Linked DNA regions of Homo sapiens: all the other regions are linked to region 3. The links are contacts of gene promoters, found by promoter capture Hi-C in human tissues and cell types (Jung and others, 2019). All regions are on one chromosome and are shown on one strand. The core of a region is centred on a gene start or on the middle of the fragment in contact, and the rest is flanking DNA. Distances in the headings are between cores, read along the strand shown.

What was found. The method cuts DNA at HindIII sites, captures the fragments that hold promoters and counts their contacts. A contact is called where the count stands out against the background at its distance.
Region 1: a contact is called between a fragment that was not itself captured here and the fragment with the promoter of CD302 in region 3, in 1 of the 25 tissues and cell types used here (lymphoblastoid cells).
Region 2: a contact is called between a fragment that was not itself captured here and the fragment with the promoter of CD302 in region 3, in 1 of the 25 tissues and cell types used here (lymphoblastoid cells).

Annotation. Positions count from the first base shown.
Region 1 is chr2:159,963,703-159,967,164 of GRCh38, forward strand. The region is part of intron 20 of PLA2R1 (phospholipase A2 receptor 1); the gene reads right to left. Among named protein-coding and RNA genes, the nearest start is that of LY75-CD302, 61 kb to the left of the region's middle. The HindIII fragment of the contact is 7,152 bases long and covers 1-3,462 here.
Region 2 is chr2:159,939,112-159,942,412 of GRCh38, forward strand. PLA2R1 (phospholipase A2 receptor 1) reads right to left here. Exons shown (of 30, transcript NM_007366.5): 29 at 3,016-3,048; 30 at 1-2,881. The coding sequence ends at 2,667. Among named protein-coding and RNA genes, the nearest start is that of LY75-CD302, 36 kb to the left of the region's middle. RefSeq lists an enhancer at 1,106-1,155. The HindIII fragment of the contact is 6,614 bases long and covers 1-3,301 here.
Region 3 is chr2:159,795,957-159,799,666 of GRCh38, forward strand. It overlaps CD302 (CD302 molecule), which reads right to left and starts at 2,252. Exons shown (of 6, transcript NM_014880.5): 1 at 2,176-2,252. The coding sequence starts at 2,242. The region is part of intron 33 of LY75-CD302 (LY75-CD302 readthrough); the gene reads right to left. It overlaps LOC124906083 (a long non-coding RNA gene), which reads left to right. Exons shown (of 2, transcript XR_007087273.1): 1 at 1-1,996; 2 at 2,863-3,710. The HindIII fragment of the contact is 5,989 bases long and covers 1,126-3,710 here.

The DNA.
Region 1 (3,462 bases), core at 205-2,704, 170 kb after region 3:
GTTCTAGGATGGCTATATAATAGCCAGAGTTGGCAAAGATGTGGAGAAATTGAAACCCTCACACACGGCTAGCAGGATTGTAAAATGGTTTGGTCGCTGTGGAAGAACATTTGTCAGTTCCTCAAAAAGCTAACTACTGAGTTACCATATGACCCAGCAATTCTATTCGTAGGTATACATTCAAAAGAATTGAAAATAGGGACTCAAACAGAGACTTACACACCAATGCTCATTGAAGCATTATTCACAATAGTCAAAAGGTGAAAACAACCCAAGTGCGCATCAACAGATGAATGAATAAACAAAATATGCAATATTCACACACACACACACGCCCGTGCCACACAGGAATATTATTCAGCCACAAGAAGGAAGGCAATTTTGATATATGCTAAAGCACAAATGAACCTTGAAAACATCATGCGAATAGGCCAGACACAAGGACAAATATTGTATGAGTTCGCTAATATGAAATATCTAGAATAGGCACATTCACAGGGATAGAGAATAGATTAGAGGTTACCAGGGGATGGGGAACAGGAAGTTAGTGCTTAATGGTTACAGAGTTTCTGTTTGGGATAGTGAGAATGTTTTGGAAATAGAGATGATGGTTGTATAACATTGTGCATGTAATTAATGCCATTGAATTGTACACTCAATAATGGTTAAAATGGCAAATGTTATGTTACATTATTTAGGACCATAAAGATGCTTTAAAAAACTAATTGCCAAAGGTTTTAATAAAAGACTTAGTAACACTCAGTGTCTTATTGAATATTAGCTACAAGTTTCTCATACTAAAATGTGAAAATAATTTATACCTGGTAGAAAGATTTTATAGTTTGAGAAAATAGGAAGTATACAGAAAGTATCAATGATTAAAAAATAGTGTACCTCATTACTATAGTAAAGTTTTAGAGTAAATTATACTATTCTAGAAAATATCTCATGGTGCCACTGAGCTCACTGTGTCATAGGGCTAAGCTGACATGGCAACCCTTTTTTTTAAAAAAAAATTATTAAATACTTCATTTTTTAAAGAGCAGTTTTAGGTTCACAGCAAAGTTAAGAGGAAGGTACAACTTTGGGAGACCAAGGCGGGCGGATCACCTGAGGTCAGGAGTTTGAGACCAGCCTGGCATGATGAAACCCCGTTTCTACTAAAAATACAAAAATTAGTCAGGCGTGGTGGCAGGCACCTGTAACCCCAGCTACCTGGGAGGCTGAGGCAAGAGAATCACTTGAACCTGGGAGATAAAGGTTGCAGTGAGGGGAGATCATGTCACTGCACTTCAGCCTGAGTGACAGACTGAGAGTCCATCTCAAAAAAAACCAGGAAGGTACAGAGATTTCCCACCTGATCCACACATACACAGCCTCCCGCATTATCACATGCCCCATCACCCCAGAATGGTACATCTGTTACAATCGATGAACCTGCATTAACACATCATAACCACCCAAAGTCCATAGTTTACATTAGGGTTCACTCTTTGTGTTGTACATTCTATGAGTTTGTACAAATGTCTAGTGACATGCATCCACCATTGTGCTATCATACAGAGAATTTTCACTGCCCTAAGAATCTTCCACAACTTCATCCTTCCCTCCCTGCAACACCTGGCAACCACTGATCTTTTTACTGTCTCTCTAGTTTTGTCTTTTCCAGAATGTCATATAGTTGGAATCATACAGTATTGTAGGCTTTTCAGATTGGCTTCTTTCACTTAGTAATATGAATTTAAGTTTCCTCCATGTGTTTTAAAGGCTTGATAGCTAATTTCTTTTTAGCACTGAGTAATATTCCATTGTGTGGTTGTACCAGTTTATTTATTCACCTACTAGGGACATCTTGATTGCTTCCAAGTTTTGGCAATTAAGAATAAAGATGTTATAAATATTCATGGACAGGTTTTTACATATACATAAGTTTTCAACTCCTTTGGGTAAATACCAAGGAGTGTGATTGCTGGATCAAATGGTAAAAGTATGTTTAGTTTTGTAAGAAACTGCCAAACTGTCTCCCACAGTGGCCGTACCATTCTGCATTCCCACCAGGAGTGAATGAGAGCTCCTGTTGTTCGGCCTCCTTGCCAGCATGTAGTGTTGTCAGTGCTCTGGATTTGGGCCGTTCTAGTAGCTGTGCAGTGGCAAATCACTCATTGTTGTTTTAATTTGCATTTCTGGAGTGGCAGTCCTTAAGTGCCAACGTGAAGTGGCAGGCATAGGAAAGGGGCAAGACCACCAGACTCAGGGTCAGAAAACAAAAAGTGCGTCTTGGCCTGATGCGTATTCACTGTGAAGTTTCAGAAAAGTCACACAATTTTGTTAGCATCTGTCTTCTCATATGTAAAATGAGGATAGTAATTCTATATATTTTTAAAATTCAGTGATATAAGAAATAAACATACAATCAATTAGCTAAGGGGGGACGTAACTCAAATGTCCACCAATGGATGACTGGATAAACAAAATGTAGTATATCCATACAATGGAATATTGTCCAACCGTCAAAAGGAAGTCCTGTCGCATGCCAGTGTGGGTGAACCTTGAGGACATTATGCTAACTGAAATAAGCCAGTCACAAAAAGGCAAATACTGTCTGATTCCACTTACATGAGGTATCTAAATTAGTCAATTTCAAAGACACAGAAAGTAGAACAGCAGTTGCCAAGGGGTTCAGAGTAGGAAGAACAGGGAGTCGTTTAATGGGTACAGTTTCAGTTTTGCAAGATGGAAAAGGTCTGGAGATTTGTTGAATGACAGTGTGAGTATGTGATACTTAACACTAGTAAACAGTAGACAAAAATGGCTAGAATGGTGAATTCTATATTGTGTGTATTTACCAGATATTAAAAAAATTTAAAAGTCAGTGCCAAATGTCTGGTGGGTACTCAATGAATGTGTGAAAAATCCAAGTGGCCTCATTTCTCAAATTAACAATGGGAGGAAGATCACAAAGGAGAGAAAGCCCTGCCAATATAACTGAACACTTAGATTAAAAATTGGCTGTCCACAATTGAAGAGGAATTTCATATTAGCATATGAAATGATGACACAGTTTGGGTTTTTTAATTTTCTAAGAGTTAAACAATTATAATTTGGGATGCATTTTAATTACTTCCACCTAAGGCCTATAAAGTTATTTTATTATAAAATATGAAGAGTGGAGGGAGACTAGGCCTTAATTGAAGGCAGCATCAGAAATAATAAATCTGGTTTAAAATATCCCCACTGGCAATTTTTTTTTTCTTAATTCAAATCTGCATGGAAGCACCAGCTTTATGAGGCTTAAGATGACATTGACCAAGCTAAGTTATTAGTCCCTCAATTCACTAGTGGGCAGAGCTCTATGCCGGCTCCAGGCAGGGAAAACACAAGAGTAGGAGATGGAGTCTGGGTCCTCTGAAATTTACAGCTTATTTGGGAGCAGAACCTAGACACACAGGCATGCAGGCACAT
Region 2 (3,301 bases), core at 387-2,886, 140 kb after region 3:
TAAAGTCTGGTGTAACCATCACGCAAATAGTGTATAATATACCCATTACCTGCTACTTTTTTTTCTTTTCGAATTATAGCTATAAAATCTAGTTCACATTAAAAATACAGATGAGGCCAGGTGCGGTGGCTCATGCCTGTAATCTTAGCACTTTGGGAGGCTGGGGCGGGTGGATCACGAGATCAGGAGATCGAGACCATCCTGGACAACATGGTGAAACCCTGTCTCTACTAAAAATACAAAAATTAGCTGGGCATGGTGGCATGTGCCTGTAATCACAGCTACTCGGGAGGCTGAGGCAGGAAACTTGCTCGAACCAGGCAGTTGAAGGTTGCAGTGAGCTGAGATCATGCCACTGTACTCCTGCCTGGCAACAGAGCAAGACTCCATCTCCAAAAAAAAAAAAAAAAAATGAAAAAAAGTTTCAAAAAAAATGCAAATATAAAAATGTAGCAGAATACTTCAGTACTATTTCTGCAAATTCAGTAATGGCAAGAAGTGTGTGATCTGTCCATGGGTCCAGATTATCTGGAGATGTTGTTCAATACTAAACATCAAAGTATGGAGCACTGAGAAGCAATACAGCTTCTTTCTGCAAAATCACTTTCCTAATGGTGTATTTTGTCAAATTATTATGTGTGACTATATACCTTGACTGGAAGGCTGGTTGATTAGCAGTTTTTACCAAGTCCATTGAAAAGAACAGAACTTTAATTCCACTCAAAAGATGGTTAAATTGGGCTTTTATACCATCTGGTGAGTTCAAGCCAATTATTTTTTGAGTCATAAATATGCAACTGCCACATAATATAATATCTTTTAAAAAATGAAGTCCCAATACTTAAAAAAATTATGGAGGTAGACTGTCCCAGTGTGTAAATTATTATAACAGTAGCAAAGAGCTGCTTTTGGAAGCTGGATTAACTGTTGCAGGCCACAAGGATTCCATTCTTAGTGGTATGCTCTTCAAATTGTATTTCTAATGATGATGGTTTGCCTCTTAGAAATTCATTCATACTTTCTCTCAGAGCTCCCCCTTGTGATTAGTGGCCACTGGTTTTGAGGCAGTTGGTTGTAATAATTAAAATGCACACTCTCAGGGAGGCCCTGAGAGTCCCCCAGTTTCTCTCTATCATGGAACCTTACTTCATTTTCATAACCACTTGCTATTTTATGCATATGCATTTCTTTACTGAGTTACTGTCAATTTTCCCTCATTAGAAAATAAGTGGCATGAAAAGATAGCCCTTACCCCAAGTTGCTCACCTTAGTACCTCTGTTTCTAGAACAGCACTTTTTTGAGGTGGGGTCTCATTCAGTTGCCCAGGCAGGAGTGCAGTGGTGCAACCATAGCTCACTGCAGCCTTCAACTTCTGGGCTCAGTTGATCCTCTTCCCTCAGCCTCCTAAGTAGCTGGGACTACAGGTGCGTGCCACCATGCTCAGTACACTTTTTTCTTGATAAAATTCAATAAACAGTTATGTAATGAGTAAATTTTTAGATATTGATTATGAAGCTGTTTTCTTTATAAGGAACTAATAAAGGAAAATAAAATCTGTAATTTTTTATTTACAGACAGTATCATAATCATTATTTACCATCTACACTAACTAGACTAATATAAAAGGAGATCGTTCCCAGAAAATAGTTTATTAAATAGAACACCTAAACTCATTTACATAATAAAGATATCTAGATTACTAATTTATTTAGTACTTCTCAACAACATCTGTCTGGTTCTAATGAGACTATAATTCAGATCTTTAGCTCTTCTCCTTTAAATCCAAGTTACATTTTATATCTTCCAGTTATTAAGAGTGTTACATATTATTTTATATATTTAGTTTTTCAGAAAGTCCATGAGTTTTAACAGTACAACTGTTAAAGTTTCAATATATTACTTTAAGCTTATGTATAAGACATTTTAAAATATCCAACTTAATCATCATTTAGTAATTGAAAGTTTAAGGCCACATTTTAACTATATGGTTGTTTATAAAAGTGTGCTGCTAATGAAGGTCTTTGCCATTTAAAAGAAGGTATTTTTCTTTCTCCTTTAGCTTGAGATGTTAGACCTAATAAAAATGAATGTCACCTTAAATATCAGTTGAGAGCCCAGAACCTGTGACCCTTAAGCACAGAAATTAGTATTTTCCAAATCCTGCTATTAAAAGTGAATTCAAAAGAAACAACTAAGAATCCTCTCAGAAGCCCTTTCCTTTTCCTCTCATATACAAGATTAATTTTTTTTTGCTTCTTTCTGTCTTTCTTAATGGTACGAGTGCAGGTAAATGTCTGAATAGATACCAGATTAGTTTTAAAATTCCCCCAAATTTTAGTAGAGATACATTAATGCAAAAACTATTATTCGCATTGATTTCAGAGTTTTCAATAGGGAGTTTCTTTTAATAGTTCTTGTCTTTCTGAAAAATAACCAATGCATAATTTACCCCTTTTAAGAATGGATCACAGTTTAGGGAAATGAATAAATCAAAACCCATCTGATTTGGTTAAGATTCAAAACCAGTAATCACTTCAAGAATAATTAAAATAGTGACCCAATTCACATTCTAATGGCATCTGTGCTGTAAAGGGAAAGACAGATGAGACTCCTGTTTAGTCTTCTTTACTTACCCTGGTGTCTGTGGCATTCTCTGACCTCATTATTATTGGTCACTCTTCTCAAGATCAGAAATGAGAATATTTTCTTCTAAATATACTGTACTAAAGTTGGTTGCAGGATAGTAAGGATTCCGAAACCCTGCAAGTCTCCTGAAGAAGCCACCGTTATGCTTGTATATGCAGAAGGAAAGTGTGCAAATGGCCACAATGACTATCAGTGTCAGTACAACCGCAAGAGGAATGATGCTGTGACTTGGTCCTGAAAGAAGATATTTTTCTTAAAAAAAGAAAAACTTCAGTGGCGATGAAGTAATATAGATACTGTCATACAGCTGCTTTCTATCTTATTATTTCTAAGAAAAATCAAAATGTTTTGTATGGTTTCAAACGTACCTTTTTCTGGCAGCGCCTCTGCAGTGTGAATATCTAAAATCAAATACAAAAATTAAAATGAGGTTTTTCTTTTAATTCAGCAAAAATATGTCATTACTTACTCAGGGATCAGCAAACTATGGCCCATGACCCTATTTTTATAAAAAATGTTTTACTGGAACTTAGCCACACTCATTCATTGATGTATTGTTACAGCTGCTTTCCTGCTACAATGGCATGTAACAGAGACCATATGGCTCCCAAAGCCTAAAATGTTTACTAGCTGGCCCTTTACAGAAAAAGTTTG
Region 3 (3,710 bases), core at 1,002-3,501:
CTTAAGCACCCTTACGGAAAAACTTTTTAAAGCGATGCCATGGATTTTCACTCAGGAATTTAAAGAATGTTTTGTCCACTGTGATTTTCAAAATAATAGCTAAGAACAAGGTTAAGATCACTTCACTAATAACCTCCAGAATGACAGACAATAACAATGATTTCCGTTTCAACATCACATTTATATGCAATACCCATATTTATTATGCAACATCATAAGAGCTTTTCTATTAAGATCTTGGTATTCAGCAACAAACTCTTTCTTGACTTAGTTCTAAGCCAAATATGACCCCTGATCTTGCTTGGATGGGAGATTTGTAAAGTATTATGAAAAACACACTTAGTTTTTCAGCCCTATAACATTAGCATACATATGAATGTGTTCAGTAACCATAAACATCCAATATACATAAGGTGGTATTCATACGTTTTCTGGTTGCAACAATTACCCTTCATTTTGTATGAAGAGAATAAAGGGAAGGAAACCAAGATGAACCACGCCTGTAATAGGGACTAGACGTGGAGTTCCCACTTAATGCTCCCAATAGCCCCATGAGTAAGTATTATCTCTGTTTTACTGAAGTGCAGATAAGTTGGTTAACTAGCTAGGTCAAAGCTCACACTCATTTCCAAATTAATCCTTAAAGCTTCCTGACTGGGAGGAGCTGATTAATTAACATTAATTTATTCATCATGCACTTTTCTAAAGCTCTTGAAAAGCCTATTGATCCACACTGGACTTATCAAAGGAAATGCACAAAAATTTCCAAAGGGAAATTTGCCCTCTATTGCTGGTCAAAACAGCTTCACTGAAGAAGAGACATACCAAAATCTAGAAACTGATTTTCTTTAAAAGTCTGACAAGAAAGAAAAATCTGACAAGAAAATTCGACTAGCCTAAAGTACAAATGCACAGCCTCGCAGAGGGTGGTTTACATGAGAGTTGAGATGTTACTGGCTCGCAAAATGAGGGTGTGCAGAAGGAGGGTTCAGAGACAGCCCAGCTTTGTCTTAGACAAAATTAATGTTCCCAGTCTGAACAATGTGAACATGGGCACATCTTGTTTCTGCCCCTTTGATAGGCAGCAGATGTCACAACCAGTCATAAATGCAGGTCCACAGAAGTTTTCAAGAAAGGAACCTTGGGTTTGTATCCAAGTTCTGAGCTGCTGCTGCCTCCAACACTGAGGTCCACTGAAATATTCCTGTCAGTAGACTTCGAGCAGGCAGTTATTATAAAAACGCAGTGAAATCTGGGGCAAGGGGTGGGGGGGGGGAATCTCTTGCATTTTATTTAAATCTCTTGCACTTTATTTAAGCCCACACAAGTACTCATTTAGTTCTTGTTTATTTTGCTCTTTAATTCCTGGAATTATTCAGTCAGTGGTGTTTTTGGAAGTCTGTGTTCTCCAGAGTCTCCCCATCCACATATTTTTGACATGCTTGTATGGAAATTTTTTAAAAATAAAGACCACGGTCAATAGAATTGTGCATTTTCCTCACGAGTCGTTTTGTAAATGAATGATCACGTGTGTGATTTTTCAGATGTCACTTGCACAACAGCAGACTAGAACTTTAAAACTCCTTGATTTCAGTGAAATCCAAGCTTTGCCTATTCCCGTTCCTCTTCCATCCAGGGGTTATTTGGCTGAACTGTTTTCCTGTTTAAACAACTTGAACACCAACCAACTAGACAAACAGCGCTGCTTGCAAAAGAGGGCCTACTTCCTCCGGCCCCCACCCCCATCCCAGCAACCCCACTCCGGCCGCGCACCAGCAGGGGAAATCGCCACCAACGTCCCCGCTTCTCATTTCAGCCCGAAATTGCCCTGAAACGGCGCCCGTCGTGCGACTCCAAGTCCCTCAGTTCTCCGGCCAACTGGCCTAATTTGGGGGTTCCCTCCCCGCGGAGTGGGGTCTGCGGTGAGGATGTGGACTCCGAGGAAGACAGAGCCCTCCCTTATTCTCGGCCACCTCCCCTCCCCGAGGGCAGGCGGGTGAGAGGTGACCCGGAGCCAGGACCCACGGGGGACGGGCGTGCAGGGAAGGGCGGGATGGCCGGCCGGGTGTTGCGTCTGCGGGCCGCCCTCGGGTGCGCGGGGACGAAGAGCGTGCGTTGGGAAGGGGGCGAAGGCGGTCGCGCACGGTCCCGGCGAGGGACTACGTAAGGGCTTACCCGCGACGGCAGCAGCGGCGAGGCCCAGCAACGGCAGCAGGAGCGCGGGCAGCGCGGCCCGGAGCATGACGGCGGGTGCGGGTGGGCGGCAGCGGCTGCGCGGCCGGAGAGGAGCGGGGCGGGGCGGGAGCGGGGGCGGTGCTTCTCGCGTGCGAGTTTAATCCCCCCCCCGGGCGGAACGTGAACGGCACTGGGGGCTCCCACCAGGAGAACCCGGGTGTCCCGTCCCGCAGGAGCGGCTGGCGCGCGGCCTTCTGGAACTTCTAATTTTTGTTTTTTAAACTTTTCATTTGAATTGAAATAATTTAGGACTTTCGAAAATGTTGCAAAAACAGCACAAGAGATTTCCGTAACCCTTCAGCCAGCTTCTCTAAATATTGACATTGTATATAACGCCAGTGCAGTGATCAAACACAGGGCACTCGCACTGGGATAATGCGATTAGCTAATCTACAGCACTTACCACATTTCATTAATTGCCCCTCTAAGGGTCCTTTTCTGTTCCAAGATTCAATCCAGGATCATACATTGCATGTCGTGTCTCCTTAGTCTCCCTTTAATCTAGGACGGTTCTCTGTCATTCTTTTTCTTTCACGATCAAACCACATTTAAAAAGTACTGGCCAGTCGTTTTGTAGAATGTCCCTCAGTTTCATTTTGTCTGACATTTCCTTCTAATTGGATTCAGGTTGCGCTTTTTTGGGAAAGAGTTCCCCAGAAGTGATGTACGTGCTCGAGAAGGACAAGATGTCGATGTCTCATCACTGATGTTAACTTGGATCAGTTGGTTAAGGTGGCGTTTGCCAGCCTTCTTCTTTGGATCTACTGGCCAGAATCCTCCTTTTCAAAGACCCCTTTCAGTGGACTATGTCTCTTAGACAACTTTTCTCTGTTACCAGCTCCTGGATGAAGAGTCTTTAAGCTATGTTTGCTACAATGTATGCATAAACTGTGCAATTATACTTCACCCATGAGGGCCTCTGGACAACACTAGCCAGGGTCAAGCAAGGGTGCTTGTTTAAGCCTCATGTCATTGGCAAAAGAGTTCTATAAAATCAAGTCTAAACTCAACAACGTGAAAACAAATGACCCAGTTAAAAAAAATGGTCAGATGATCTGAATACACACGTCATCAAAGAAGTTATATAATGGCAAATAGATGAAAAGATGCTCAACATCATATGTCATTGCTGAATTGTATATGAAAACAAAAATGAAATACCACTACATACCTATTAGATACCAGAATCCAAAAACACTGACAAGACCACATGCTGGCAAAGATGTGGAGCAAAAAGAACTCTCATTCAATGCTGGTGCAAATGCAAAATGGTACAGCCACTTTGGAAGACAATTTGGAAGCTTCTTCCAAAACTAAACGTACTCTTACCATACCATCTAGCAATCACAACTCCTTGGTATTTATCCAAATGAGTTAAAAACTTACATACACACAAAAACCTGCACATGAATGTTGATAGCAGCTTTATTCATAATTGCCAGAACCTAGAGGCAAACAAGATGTCCTTCAATAAG